Regions from separate parts of the Homo sapiens genome. Here regions 1, 2, 3 and 4 are each linked to region 5. Evidence: promoter capture Hi-C in human tissues and cell types (Jung and others, 2019). All regions are on one chromosome and are shown on one strand. The core of a region is centred on a gene start or on the middle of the fragment in contact, and the rest is flanking DNA. Distances in the headings are between cores, read along the strand shown. Region 1 overlaps LOC101927863 (a long non-coding RNA gene). Region 2 overlaps SPG7 (SPG7 matrix AAA peptidase subunit, paraplegin). Region 3 overlaps ANKRD11 (ankyrin repeat domain containing 11). Region 4 overlaps ANKRD11 (ankyrin repeat domain containing 11). Region 5 holds the start of PIEZO1 (piezo type mechanosensitive ion channel component 1 (Er blood group)).

The links. Contacts are between HindIII fragments. The study calls those that stand out against the background at their distance.
Region 1: a contact is called between a fragment that was not itself captured here and the fragment with the promoter of PIEZO1 in region 5, in 1 of the 25 tissues and cell types used here (lymphoblastoid cells).
Region 2: a fragment that was not itself captured here is called in contact with the fragment with the promoter of PIEZO1 in region 5 in 1 of the 25 tissues and cell types used here (lymphoblastoid cells).
Region 3: a fragment that was not itself captured here is called in contact with the fragment with the promoter of PIEZO1 in region 5 in 3 of the 25 tissues and cell types used here (dorsolateral prefrontal cortex, lymphoblastoid cells and thymus).
Region 4: a contact is called between a fragment that was not itself captured here and the fragment with the promoter of PIEZO1 in region 5, in 2 of the 25 tissues and cell types used here (lymphoblastoid cells and spleen).

The regions. Positions count from the first base shown.
Region 1 is chr16:89,504,426-89,507,125 of GRCh38, reverse strand. It overlaps LOC101927863 (a long non-coding RNA gene), which reads left to right. Exons shown (of 5, transcript NR_188547.1): 2 at 979-1,167; 3 at 1,973-2,081. Among named protein-coding and RNA genes, the nearest start is that of SPG7, 2.6 kb to the left of the region's middle. RefSeq lists an enhancer at 1,229-1,278. The HindIII fragment of the contact is 3,703 bases long and covers 1-2,700 here.
Region 2 is chr16:89,522,936-89,525,635 of GRCh38, reverse strand. SPG7 (SPG7 matrix AAA peptidase subunit, paraplegin) reads right to left here. Exons shown (of 17, transcript NM_003119.4): 4 at 1,389-1,630. Among named protein-coding and RNA genes, the nearest start is that of SPG7, 16 kb to the right of the region's middle. RefSeq lists enhancers at 6-115, 2,436-2,700. The HindIII fragment of the contact is 5,277 bases long and covers 1-2,700 here.
Region 3 is chr16:89,480,443-89,483,142 of GRCh38, reverse strand. All of the region lies in intron 1 of ANKRD11 (ankyrin repeat domain containing 11), which reads left to right. Among named protein-coding and RNA genes, the nearest start is that of ANKRD11, 8.8 kb to the left of the region's middle. The HindIII fragment of the contact is 7,186 bases long and covers 1-2,700 here.
Region 4 is chr16:89,296,846-89,299,545 of GRCh38, reverse strand. All of the region lies in intron 4 of ANKRD11 (ankyrin repeat domain containing 11), which reads left to right. It overlaps LOC124903757 (keratin-associated protein 5-2-like), which reads right to left. Exons shown (of 2, transcript XM_047435030.1): 2 at 1-2,355. The coding sequence starts at 114. LOC105371414 (a long non-coding RNA gene) reads right to left here. Exons shown (of 3, transcript NR_136339.1): 2 at 1,584-2,355; 3 at 1,229-1,395. Among named protein-coding and RNA genes, the nearest start is that of ZNF778, 80 kb to the right of the region's middle. The HindIII fragment of the contact is 5,021 bases long and covers 1-2,700 here.
Region 5 is chr16:88,783,943-88,786,642 of GRCh38, reverse strand. PIEZO1 (piezo type mechanosensitive ion channel component 1 (Er blood group)) reads left to right here and starts at 1,423. Exons shown (of 51, transcript NM_001142864.4): 1 at 1,423-1,742. The coding sequence starts at 1,679. RefSeq lists silencers at 925-1,254, 1,295-1,774, 2,275-2,594 and an enhancer at 1,279-2,192. The HindIII fragment of the contact is 3,328 bases long and covers 1,230-2,700 here.

The DNA of each region.
Region 1 (2,700 bases), core at 143-2,642, 720 kb before region 5:
GACGCTCAGGAAAGTGTTTTCAGTTATCGTGGTTATCCGCCCTCAGCCCTCCAGTGGGCCGGGTGCCTCGGCAGAGGTGCTCGGGGCTGGGGAGGTGTTCTGTTGGTTTGTGGAGAGGACCTTCCCCTACACCCAGGGCTGACACTGATTTTCACAACTGAACCGCTTTTCCTTTTGCTTCTTATTGTACAGTCAGCCTTCGCAGTGAATCCAACCTTGCCGTTTCCTCCTCCACTATTTTTTCTTTCCCTGATTGAAAGACACCAGGTGGGCCGGGCGCGGTGCCCTCCCCCTCCCTCTCCCTGCCCTTCATCCCAGCACTTTGGGAGGCCAAGGCGGGCGGACCACGAGGTCAGGAGATCGAGACCATCCTGGCTAACACGGCGAAACCCCGTCTCTACTAAAAATACGAAAAATTAGCCGGGCGCTGTGGCGGGCGCCTGTAGTCCCAGCTACTCGGGAGGCTGAGGCAGGAGAATGGCGTGAACCCGGGAGGCGGAGCTTGCAGTGAGCCGAGATCCCGCCACTGCACTCCAGCCTGGGCGACAGAGCGAGACTCCATCTCAAAAAAAAAAAAAAAGGTCACAAATCCTCTGAACGCACAGGCATAAAGGGTTGTGGGGCTCGGTCACTTCCTAGAACACAAAAAACCCTTTCGGAAGTTTGGTTGGGTTGGTCACGGGACAAGGCTGGAGAGAGGGTGAGGGCACACATTTGGATGTGTTTGGGAGGAGTTTAAGTGTAGTCCTATTAATATTGTTTGAGATAAGTTAAAATTGTTTCCTGGCAATTCATCAGAAGCAGTGTGGGGTGTTGGCAAGAGGCCTCCTCTGGGGAAAGAACACTGGGTTCTGTCTCCTCTGGCCTATGACCTTAAGCAAGTTATTAGCTTCCTCAAGCCTCAATCTTCTCAGCGGTAAAATGGGGATGATAATTATCTGCAAAGCAAGGCTAATATCAGCCTTGGGTTTCCCACAGGGTGGTTATGAAGATAAAATGCAATAAATGTGTGTGAGGGCAACTGACGAGCCAGGAAGCCTTGGCATCCAGAGTTATTACTGGGACGTCATGGGAAATGAGGATATGGGAACAGAGTATTTATGCATTTATTCAAACTCATCTCTAACAACCGTGCTTTGAAGGCTGGCTGCATCCCAGGCCCTACAGGTGAACCGTGACTCTCAGCTCTCAGCTTCAGCCCCTGCTGTAGTGGCGGCAGCAGCAGAGGCTCACGTAGCCTCAAGCAGTAGGGGTTTTGTTTAAGGATTCGGGTGCCCCATGGTTTGGGGGTTTTGTTTTTATTTTGCTGCATGATTTGGATTCAAGAAGAAGGATCTGTAGGACAGTGGGCTCCCGGGTCTGCCTTTGCCCTCATAGCCTGCAGCAGAGCAGGACGTTCGCTTTCCCTTCTCCGCCTGTGTGTTCTTCCTGCACTGCCTAACTGCTGCTTGCTCATTTGTGCTTCCGTGTCACCCCTCCTCAGCCCTCTGAACTCTGCACGTCAGGACTTGGCACACTTCCTAACTGCTGCTTACTCATTTGTACTTCCGCGTCACCCCTCCTCAGCCCTCTGAACTCTGCGCTTGGACTTGGTGTGACTTCCCTTCCCCGCCTATTCTCTAGAGGCAGTCTCTTGGTGACTCCTGGTTTGGGTCAGGGCACGCCTTAGGTCTCTGGATGGCTACCAACCCCAGGTTCCCTCAGCTCTAGCCCCATAAGAGAGGAGGCCTCAGGAGCGCCTAGGGCAGCCCTTTCAGCCTGGGCTGTGGGAAGGGAAGGTGGACAGAGAGGAGACCCCATGCCTTTGTTCCCTGTTGATGCAGAAGCATTCTAGGCTCTGTCCCTTATTCCTGCTGTGGGCTGAAGCTTCAGGCAAGGTGCTCTACAAACTTCAGTTGCCTCATCTATCAAACAGTAACGTTTAACATTCCAGAGACAGAAGTTGATCTTTGGGACTTTTTTTGATTTTAAGATCTAGGCTGGCTGGGGCGGTGGCTCATGCCTGTAATCCCAGCACTTTGAGAGGCCGAGACCGGTGGATCACGAGATCATCAGGAGATGAGACCATCCTGGCTAACATGGTAAAACCCAGTCTCTACTAAAAATAGAAAAAATTAGCCGGGCACGGTGGCAGGTGCCTGTAATCCCAGCTACTTGGGAGGCTGAGGCAGGAGAATCGATTGAATCTGGGAGGCAGAGACTCCATCTGAAAAAAAAAAAAAAAGATCTAGGCTTCTGGCTGGGTGCTATGTCCCACGCCTGTAATCCCAGCACTTTGGGAGGGCAAGGCAGGTGGATCACTTGAGGTCAGGAGTTCAAGACCAGCCTAGCCAACACGGCGAAACTCTCTTTCTACTAAAAATACAAAAAAATTAGCCAGGCACGGTGGCAACATGCCTGTAGTTCCAGCTACTCGAGAGGCTGAGGCATGAGAATCGCTTGAACCTGGGAGGTGGAGGCTGCAGTGAGTTAAGATCTTGCCACTGCACTCCAGCCTCAGTGATGAGTGAGACCCTGTCTTTTTTTTTATGAGACAAGGTCTCACTCTGTTGCCCAGGCTGAAGTACAGTGGTGCGATCTCAGCTCACTGCAGCCTCTGCCTCCCAGCTTCAAGCGATTCTCCTGCCTTAGCCTCTCGAGTAGCTGGGATGACAGGCATGAGCCATCGCGCCAGGCCAAGACTGTCTCAAAAAAAAAAAA
Region 2 (2,700 bases), core at 156-2,655, 740 kb before region 5:
GCTCAGATTTCAGCATGACTGGACGGCAACACCCCAAAGGGAGGACACAGACGGACTTGCGGGACTCTCTTTGAGGTTAACTGGAAACTCCAGCAGAGGACAGGGATGAGGGGTGGGGATGGCACCTGCTGCTCCCTCACTCACACCCCAAACTGCTAAGACAGAATTCTGAGCATTTTCTCTTTAAGGCAGCTGTTTTATCAGGTGACTCGTCTAGAGCTGAGCATAGTGTTGTAGGTTAAAATAACCTTCCAGACTGAAATAATCAGGCATCCACCAGAGGATTTACGTGAATGAGCACCGTCTTCTGCACTTAGCCATGGTGTATTTTAAGAACAAGGTTTCCTGTTTTTAAAAATAGCAAGACAGCGCCAGGCGTGGTGGCTGACGCCTGTGATCTGGCACTTTGGAAGGCCAAGGTGTAAGGATCACTTGAGGCCAGGAGTTCAAGACCAGCCTGGGCAATATAGTGAGACCTCATCTCTCCAAAAAAACAAAAAATTTAAAAATTAGCCAAGTGTGGTGGTGCGCGCCTGCCATCCCAGCTACAGGGGAGGCTGAGGTGGGTAGATCACCTGAGCCCAGGAGATCAAGGCTGCAGTGAGCCGACATCACACACACCCCTGCATCTCAGCCTGGATGAGACAGAGGGAGACTCTGTCTCCAAAAAAAAAAAAAAAAAGCAAAAGAAAAGGAAAAAGCATTCTGAATCCTGAGTAACCCAGCAAAGGGGCAGAAGCTCTGGTGGAGGCCACGGTCATTTCCAGACCCGGGGGTGGGCCACACCAACCCCAGACCACTTTCCTAATCACTGGTCCACACATTACCCTGGGTTAAATTGCTCCAAGCACATGTTCTGACGCACTCTTGGAATCTAAAGTTACCAGATCTGGCTGGGCACGATGGCTCACGCCTGTAATCCCAGCACTTTGGGAGGTCAAGGTGGGCAGATCACCTGAGGTCAGGAGTTCGAGACCAGCCTTGCCCAACATGGAGAAACCCCATCTCTACTAGAACTACAAAAATTAGCCAGGCGTTGTGGTGCACGCCTGTAATCCCAGCTACCCGGGAGGCTGAGCCAGGAGAATCCCTTGAACTCGGGAGGCAGATGTTGCAGTGAGCCAAGATCACATCACTGCGCTTCAGCCTGGCCAACAGAGCGAGACTGTCTCAAAAACAAAAACAAAAACAAAGGCAACCAAATAAATGCAAATCAATGGGCTGAGGTCCCTGCATGAGAAAGAAGCATGCCCTCAATCACAGGTATCCAAAAGGATGGCAACAGCCAGCGCCCACACCCTCATTCACAGGAGCCCACAGCCTCACTCTCACAGGCTGCCAGCCTGTGCCCACACCCTCACTCACAGGCCTCCCGCACCCTCACTCACAGGCCGCCCAAACACCACGGCTCCAGGGTGCAGGTAGACTTCCACCACGTCGCTCTCAGGCACCACCTGGACGCGCTGCACCTCGCCCTTGGCCAGCATCTCGTGGACAAAGTCGTTCCAGGAAATGCTGCCTCCGCTGGTGCTGAGAGCATTCAGGAGGCTCATGACAACCGCGATGACCAGCAAGGTGCGCAGCCGCTCTCGGTACATCTGGTCGTCCCGCTCACGGCGTCTCCTCTCCTCTGAGCCGGCAGAGAAGCAAAAGGGAGAAACAAACACATGAGCAACAGACACGGGCGACATCCAGAGCTTCCTCAGGAAAGCTCAGCTGGACGGGGAGGGGCAGCGTCCTGCACAGAAGATCCTGCACTTCCTCCAATTCTTCCCTGACGTTATCAGAGACAAAGACTAACGCTGTGCTGTTCGAGGTCACCCACACTTCATTCGCTGAGGTCACTTCAGTGAGGAGCAGGAGTGGTTCCCACCTAAGAGGAAACCATTTCTAAATCGAAACACTTAGACCTGGGCACAACGGTGCACGCCTGTGGTCCCAGCTACTTGGGAGGCTGAGGCGGGAGGTTGAAGCTGCAGTGAGCCGTGATCGCGCCACTGTGCTCCAGCCTGGGTGACAGAGAACGACCCTGTCTCAGAAAAGAAACGACCGTCCCAGGCCGTCCGAGCCGTCACAGATGCAGTCAGCTCTCCTGCTGCAAAGTGCAAGCTCACAATGGCCATGAATCCAGTTGCTTGGAGTTTGATCAAATACTAAATATCAAAACATACACAAAAGTTATTAAAAACGATTAAAACAAATACCTTTTACCACAACCTGCCTCAAGAAATAATACCTTCCCAATCCCACTGAAGACCCTTGTGCCTTCTCTCTCCCTACCCAACAACCATTCTGAACTTTTTACTCATCAGAATGACTAACATTTAACAGAAAGTTGTAGGTTATCACAACATCTGAAAATAGAACTTAAAAATATCATGAGATACACTGTTGAGTCTAAAGGCATATACTCCAGACCACTTGACTCTAGAATTTTCCCAGAGACCAACTCTTTATGAGAAGCACCAGGTGAATTCTTCTAAATTACCTTCCTCAGTTATTAACACCCTACTGAAGACACGGTGGCATTATGCTTAGCTCTCAGAGGATGGAAAAGACATTCGGCCCCTGTTCTCCAGACATTGGGATACCTCGAGGGGAGGTGGACAGGTGCACCCTGCAGACAGCAAGAGACCGACTCAAGGCCGGCCTGGGGCCAGCACAGAGGGGATCTGGAGCAGCGGGCGCTCACTCACTCTT
Region 3 (2,700 bases), core at 23-2,522, 700 kb before region 5:
GAAGGCAAATGGAGGGTGTGGAAGGGAGACAGAGAACAGCTCTTGGGCGTTGGAGAAGTGCTGGGACTTGTGTCAGTGCTGCCCGTGTTGGTTTTCCAGCGCTGCTGTAACTAACCACCATAACCTTAGATTTATTGTTTTATAGTTCTGTTGATTAGAAGCCTAACATGATCTGCCTGGGCTAAAATCTGGGTAGGTAGGGCTGGTTCCTTCTGGAGGCTCCAGGGGAGAATCTGTGTTCTTGTCTTTTCCGTGTTCCAGAGGCTGCCTGCATTCGGCCTGTAGTGCTTTCCTCAGTCTTCAAAGCCAGCCTCATGGCATCTCTCTGACTCCTGCTGCCCACCCGCTTTTTTGGAGAGTCTCGGCTCTGTTGCCCAGGCTGGAGTGCAGTGGCACAATCAAGGCTCACTGCAGCGTCGACCTCCTGGGCTCAATCAATCCTCCCGCCTCAGCCCCCCAGCAGTGCTGGAATTACAGGCATGGAGCCACTGTGCCTGGCCCTTGTTTCACTTTTGGATCCTTGTGGTTACAAATTGGGCCCACCCGAGCACTGCGAGGTCATCTCCCTCTCTGCTGATTAGTAACCTCAGTTCCCTTTTCCACGTAACCTAAGGCATTCACAGGTTCCAGGGGTGAGCAAGCTGGAGGTTTTTCCAGTAATGTTCCCTTGCTGTCCTCAGATGCCATCCGGGATCCCACATTGCATTTAGTTGTCATGTCTCCTTAATCTCGTCTGCAACCATTTCTCAGCGTTTCCCTGTTTTTCATGACCTTGGCAGTTTTGATGAGGGCAGTCATCTTTTTTTATGTCTTTGTGACTGACCGTTCACACATTGGCATGTTTGTAAAGCACGGTGTGGCTGACGTGTGGCTCACCTGACTGCTTTTCCAAATGGGGTGCAGTGTGCTCTACAGTGGGAGAACAGCTTTGTGTCTTCTTTTAGCTGGAAGGAGCTACATGTTTTATAGAAGGGACTTCTGAAACTAGACAAACTCTGCTTTTTCTGATGTTTCACTGATTTCCTTCACAGATGTTCATTGGCTGCTCACTGGGTGCAGTGCTGTGGCCTCCTGTTCTGAGATCTGGGAGAAAGATGCATTTAGTTGACTAAAGCTTGCATTAAATATTGGTTCTTATGAAAAGAGAGATCATAGATCAGAGGAGGGAAAGGCTCTGTGACCTGGGAGATTTAAGGGAAGAAGTGCTATTTTTTTTTTTTTTAACTGTAAGCTATGTTTCTGTTTTAAAAAAAGAATCAGTAGAATGTCACTGCAGAAATCAGAGTAAGGGCATCTTCGACTTCGGGAAGGCTGGGGACAAAGGCTGGGAAGGCCGCATGTAACGTGAGAATGTCAGCCAGACGTGTCTGAACACGAAAGCCCATCCAAGAAGATGGAAGATGACAGCAGATTAACCTGGAAGCATGACTGGAGTTGGGTTGTGTAGGGTTTGCAATGATAGACCTGAATTTCATTTGCTTACTTGTTTTGAGGCAGAAGATGATGTGTCAGAGTTTGCAGGCGGTGGATGCCTAGATGAAAGCACTGGCTTTGCAACACCATGGTGCCTAAATGGTTCTTTTTTTGAGACAAGGTCTTGCTCTGTCACTCAGGGTGGAGTGCAGTGGCGTGACCATATCTCACTGCATCCTTGAGCTTCTGGGCTCAAGTGAGCCTCCTGCGTCAACGTCATGAGTGGCTAGAACTACAGACGTGCGCTAATTTTTAAAAATTCTTTGTAGAAATGGGGTTTCGCTATGTTTCTTAGGCTGATGTTGAACTCCTGGCCTCAAGTAGTCCTCCTGCCTCAGCCTCCCAAAGTGCTGGGATGACAGGCACAAGACATCACATGCAGCCTTAAGAAGATCCCTACAAGAGAACCTGGAGAAACTTGAAATAGGGAAGGGGACTCGAAAGCACACTGTGTAGGTGAATTGTGAAGACTTCATGGTGTTAACTGGTATTCATTAAAAAGACTTGGAAAAAGAGAAGATGAATTGATTCCCAGTGGAGGGAATGGGGCAAACATTAGTTAGGAGAGTGGCTTTGTGAAACGATAGAGCAAAGGAGACAGAAAAGAAAGCAGGAATGGGGAACGGGGTGGTGGGGCAGAAGCTGGGTGCTGTTTATTTTGTGCCTACTGTGTGTCACTCTCCATTCTCTGCCCTGGGGACATTTGACAGATGTGGACGTCACTGGTGTGATTTGCCCACATTCTGGAGGGAGAAGTGGGCATCTCAGTTGAGGAAAGGAAATGGCTATCTGGGGAATTCTTGAGGGGCACAGCCCAGGACGGAGCCTTGTGTTAGATGGGTACCTGCTGGCTCTGCTCAGCTCGGCAGATGTGTTGCCTAAATGACTTTAATGGCCAAGGCAGACTGGTATTTGCCCTCAGATATTTTGTCAGGACAGTGTAAAATGTGGGCCAAGATAGTGGTTTTGGGTCCAAACAGAAGGGGGTTAGAGATTTTGGAGGTTGAAGCCTGCTGCTAGAAGGAGTATAGAAAGAAGAACGGGGATTCTGTTTGCCCAAATACATGGTTAGGCTCATCTTGGACTTGTTTTTGTTTTATATCTTCTGTTACTTCTATGCACATATTAATAGATACCTAATTAATATTTGGTTGGAAATCTTAAAAGTTAGGATTTTTTTTTTCTTTTTTTTTGAGATGGAGTCTCACTCTGTCGCCCAGGCTGGAG
Region 4 (2,700 bases), core at 120-2,619, 510 kb before region 5:
ACAGACCCCAAGCACCCCACACAGGGCACAGACCCCACGCACCCCACACAGGGCACAGACCCCACACACCCCACACAGGGCAGGCACCTCACACAGGGCACAGACCCCATGCATCCCACACAGGGCAGGCACCCCACACAGGGCACAGACCCCACACACCCCACACAGGGCAGGCACCCCACACAGGGCACAGACCCCACGCACCCCACACAGGGCAGGGATCCCACGCAGGGCACAGATCCCACGCAGGGCAGGGCCAGCCCAAGGCCAGGCCCCTCCCCTGTAGATCTCCTCCCAGGCAGGACCAGAGCCACAGTCACTTCCACACTATCTCCTTCCCTAGAAACCTCTGCAGACTCTTCCTCCTCTCCTCGATACACAGGGGCCCCTGCCACAGCCTGACTCTCTGCCACCTCGTGAGTCTCTGGAAAGCAGGGTCGGCCTCTGAATACAGAGGACTTGGGTCCTGCCGGAGGATGCTTGGCCAGTGGGTGCTGGCACGTGAGCAGCCCCCGGGGAGTCAGAGTGGGGCTGCAGCGAAGGCCGTGGTGGTCGAGGTGAGGGTGGTGGCCAGGTCTTGTTGCCGCAGTGAGGATTCTGGGGTTACCCTAAGAGCCACCACATTCAGGCACTCAAGAAAAAGCACGTCAAAATAAAATATTTTCACATGATTAAGAACTCCGCGTGATTGGTCTCTGGTCCTCCTATTTCTCAACCATTTTTCCTCTCTAGACGTAAGCAGTTTCTCATACAAAGGGAAGCTTGGACTAGCAAAGGGAAGGTTCTTGCTGTTTAAAATTCTGTAATCCCCAAGCCGCAGCAAAGGCTTCCCTGACACCCCTCAGAAGTGCACTTAGGCCGGTAGCCAGGCCCATGTTGTCAACACAACACAGACAAGCTGGGGTCCACAAGACCACCCGAGGCTCAGCGATTTGATGGAGGACCCCGGGACTCAGGATAAAGGTGGTGGCTGCCGTGGGAGCAGTCAGCCAAGTGAGGGGGGCGGGCAGGGGCCGTCTGCTACCTCCTGGCTCCATGCTGTGGGACTTTGGGCCCATTTCTCAGCCTGTCTGTGCCTCTCAGCCCTTTCATCCATAAAGCTCTGCTGTGTGAGGAGCTGTGGCCCCTCGACAGAGGGGTCCCCCCAGCCCTGTGCTCTCACCGCCCATGCATTCGGCCAGGCAGGCCTGTGCCCTGCAGGAGTGACGGACACAGCTCAGGCCTCAGCGCAGGTTTGGACGTTGATCTTGTTTATTTTAAAATACCCACGATGCTGTGTGTGTGGAAAGGAGGCCCAGGGTGGGAAACCGTTCTGTTTGGTTGTCATCTGAGCCCTTTTGCCGACATTGCTTCCTTCCTTCCTGGCTTCTTGTTCACCATGGTGACCGCTGGATGCTGGTGAAACCACCATGGGGCTCAGGCCCTGCTCCTTCCCACCCTTGCCACATAACCCTGTTTGCCTCCACAGGCTTCCTGTGGAACTGGTCCTTCCGCCCCACCCCACCCTACCCCTACCCCACCCCGGCCTGGAGATGGGGAAGGCATGGAGGTTGTGCAGGCAAGGGCTGGACGCACAGCCTTACCTCTGTGTGACCCCTTCACATACACTGCGGAAGAAGCCAAAGCTGAAAGGCGTAAGAGATGACCCAGCTCCCATCGGCAGGCGGGAGGGCTGAGGTCACGCAGCAGACAGGGGTAGGCCCTGTCTTTCTTTAAGTGATCAATGACGGTAACTGACAGAAAGAAGGCAGAAAGAGAGAGAAACCTGGAGATTGGAAGGAGAAGCCAGTCTCACCACAAGATGGCTCACAGTGCTCAGCGGGCGCCCGCCAGCTTCTCTTGTTGGCCCAGGACAGGCTGTTCGGAGCTTGTCTTGCTGCCCCAAGGAGGATGTCAGTGGGAATATGGTTGCGCCCTCGTTTGGAGTTGTGCGAGCGTTGAGCTCAGTGCCCGGGTAGGAACTTGGCGTTGTGGACCATCCGCCTCGTGTAGATCGGCTGTGATTTAGACTTCTTGGCCAGAAGTGCTGTATTTCATGGCTTTGAACATCCGGATGAGGCCAGATGTTTGGTGTGGACAGCATGGTTTTTAGTCAAATGGAAGAGAATCTGTGAGCAGCAGCCGTGCTACAAAGCTGCACCCGGCCCTGCCCATCAGTTCCATGAGCTGTAACCGCCATCGGCCGTGAACTTTCTGTTGTTTGAAAATATCGCCATGGAAACATCCCTTTGTGGAGCAGAATCAAGAATGTATTTTGACGTCTTCGAGTTTTACGGTGGGACGCAGGAGTTGCACATTTTCCTATGTTGACAGTATCGTGGCCTGTGTCTCCTAAAAGACTCTTGCTAGAAAAGCCTAGAAATTAGAGGTGCTAAATGATTGATACAAAAGGCATTTGTTCAGATGAGCAGCTGAGGCCACACACCTCCACGTCCCTGGGGCCCAACCTCAGGGTCTCTGCCTTGGAGCCCAGCTTCAGACCTCCCAGGGAGGTAGAGGAAGGGGCTTTGGGCCCAGACCCCACGGAAAGCTTGTCCCCTCGAGAGGGCCACACTTCCTGGACACTGGGCTATCAGGGTAGACACTGTCCCCCCAGCTAAGAGGGACAGGTGCTGAGGAGGGATGAGGGGCTTTGAGAGGTCACCAATGAGACTTCTGACCCATTCCTGCCCTCTGGTGGGGCTGGCATTTGGATTTGTG
Region 5 (2,700 bases), core at 174-2,673:
AGGCGCCTGCCATCACGCCCGGCTAATTTTTGTATATTTATTTATTTATTTATTTATTTATTTATTTATTTATTGAGACGGAGTCTGGCTCTGTCGCCCAGGCTGGAGTGCAGTGGCGCTATCTCGGCTCACTGCAAGCTCCGCCTCCTGGGTTGATGCCATTCTCCTGCCTCAGCCTCCCGAGTAGTTGGGACTACAGGAGCCCGCCACCACGCCCGGCTAATTTTTTATGTTTTTAGTAGAGATGGGTTTTCACCGTGTTAGCCAGGATGGTCTCGATCTCCTGACCTGGTGATCCACCCGCCTCGGCCTCCCAAAGTGCTGGGATTACAGGCGTGAGCCACCGCGCCCGGCCTAATTTTTGTATTTTTAGTAGAGACGGGGTTTCACCATGTTGGCCAGGCTGGTCTCGAACTCCTGACGTCAAGTGATCCCCCGACCCCCTACCCCCTTGCCTCAGCCCCGCAAAGTGCTGGGATTACAGGCCTGAGCCACTGCCCCGCCATCTTTTTTTTTTTTTTTTTTTTTTGAGCTGGAGGGTGTGGGCTTGTGCTGGGCTCTCATGAGTTGCCAGTGCCTTGAGGCTCAGTGGCCACAGTCCCCCCAGCCCCACTCCCTGCCTTACGCAGCTGAGTTTGAGAGCCATGAACTGAGCCCAATTAAACGGTGTAGAGCCCTTTGCCCTCTTTCTGTGCCCATCTCAAGGGCAGACGAAGGCCAAACTGACGTGGCCTGGGTGAGGGTCCCGAACACCCTGGACTCAGACCCTACCTCTCCGTGGCAGGGCGCCGCGGCAGCAGGTGCACAGGCCGTGGCTCTCACTCTCACCGTCTCACGCCAGAGCGACCCGGGCAAAGCCGCGCGCGGTGGCCGGCGTGGCTGGGAGCAGCCCCCGAGCCCCCGTCAGACCAACGCGGATCGCGGCACTGCTGCGACCCGAGCATCCCGCGTGCTCCCTCCGGGACCACTAGGCCCGGCCGCCGCGGGAACTCCGAGCCTCCCCACGGTCCCCAGGGGGCGCTGCGTGCTCGCGCCTCGGGGAGCAAAGCGAAAGTCGCTCGGGCACGCGGGGTGCAGTTGCGCGTGGGGCGCTGCCTGGGGGAGCCAGAGGCCCCGGGACCCCTTATGTAGCGCCCGGGCCCCAGCCGCAGCCCACCCAGCGAGAAGCGCCCCTGCCCACCGCCGCGCACGCTCGGAGCCGCGGGGCCAAGACTGCGGGAGGGGAGGGGTCCGCTCCGGGCCAGCGCCAGTCGGGGGTCTCCAGGCCCCAACGCACCAGGGCGGGCCGGAGGCGGGACGGGCCGCGCGGGACAGCGGAGGGGGTGCCTGGGCGCGCCGGGCCGTCGGGGAAGCGCGGAGGCGGGCACGCCGGGGAGGGCGGGAGGGGGCCGAGCTTATAAAGGCCCGCGGGCGGAGGAGGGCGGGAGCCGCCGTCCGGCCCAGCTCGGCCCCAGTGAGCCGAGCGCTGCGCTCCGCCGAGGGGCAGGGCGGTCGCCTGAGCGAGCGCGGGCCCGGGACGTCGGCACCGGCGGGGCGGCCGAAGGAGAAGGAGGAAGAGGAGAAGGCGGCGCGCGGGTCCCCGCGGGTCAGCCATGGCGCGCCGGCCCCGGGGCCCCCGCACCGCCCCATAGCGCCGCGGCGTCCGCTCGGTCTGGGCCGGGCCCTGGGCCCTCCAGCCATGGAGCCGCACGTGCTCGGCGCGGTCCTGTACTGGCTGCTGCTGCCCTGCGCGCTGCTGGCTGGTGAGTGGGGGGCGGGCGCCTGGGGGCGACGGGAGGGGGCTGCGTCTCGGCTCCCCACGGCCTGGACACCGGACGACGCCGGCCGGGGCGAGGGCTGCGGGCGAGCGGGCGCGGAAATTCCCAGGGACGCGCGACCCGGGCGCCCGCATTCCTGAAGCATGAGCGCGCCAGGCGGCGGCGGGGCTCCTGTCCCAGGGCCGGGCTGGAAGGGCGGCGGCGGCTGGGGGAGACGGCACCGCGTGCCCACGGGGGCGGTCGAGCGAGCGCCGGGCATAGCGCGGCTGGCGTCTCCGCCGGGGCGCTGCGGAGAGGAGGCCGCCGGGCGAGGCGGTGTTTGCCCCGGTGGGAAGGGCCGCGGCGGTGGTGGGGGGAGCACGAATCTCTTTTTCTCTTTCGGGTTTAAAAAAAAAAGCGCAAAGTTGCATCAGGACTTCCTGACAATCTGGGAGAAGGCGGGCTTCCTGCCTGGAGCTGTTTAATTTGGAGCTTCCCGAGCCCAACGAACGTCCGTGCCCAGGGCCCAGCCCCGCTCACCGCTGCACCCCCCTCTGCCGGACTGAGGCGGTCCCACACTTTGGAAAAAAATAGTGTGGGTTCCTCCCTGGTCCTCCCTTGCCCTACTGGGCTCAGTTTCGCAGGGGCGGGGGCCGGCCTCTGCCCTGGTCTGGGGGAGGGGACACCCCCGGAGGCTGTGGCCTGGTGTCAGGGCGGGGCAGGGGTCCCCAGTCCTGGCATCTGTGTTCCCTGCTTGCCGGGCAGTGGTGCCCCTTTCGCGAAGCACACCCGGGTGGCTTGGTGCTGCACGGCCTGGCACCCCTACCCTTCCCCGACCCTGGCCTAGCCGGGACCCAGGGTCCGCGCCCTCCGCCCGGGGGCTCCCCACGTGTGATTGATCTGGGAAGCAGTCGGATGGAATTAACCCACGGACAAGTGGGACGGTTTGCATTGGGAGTCCGCC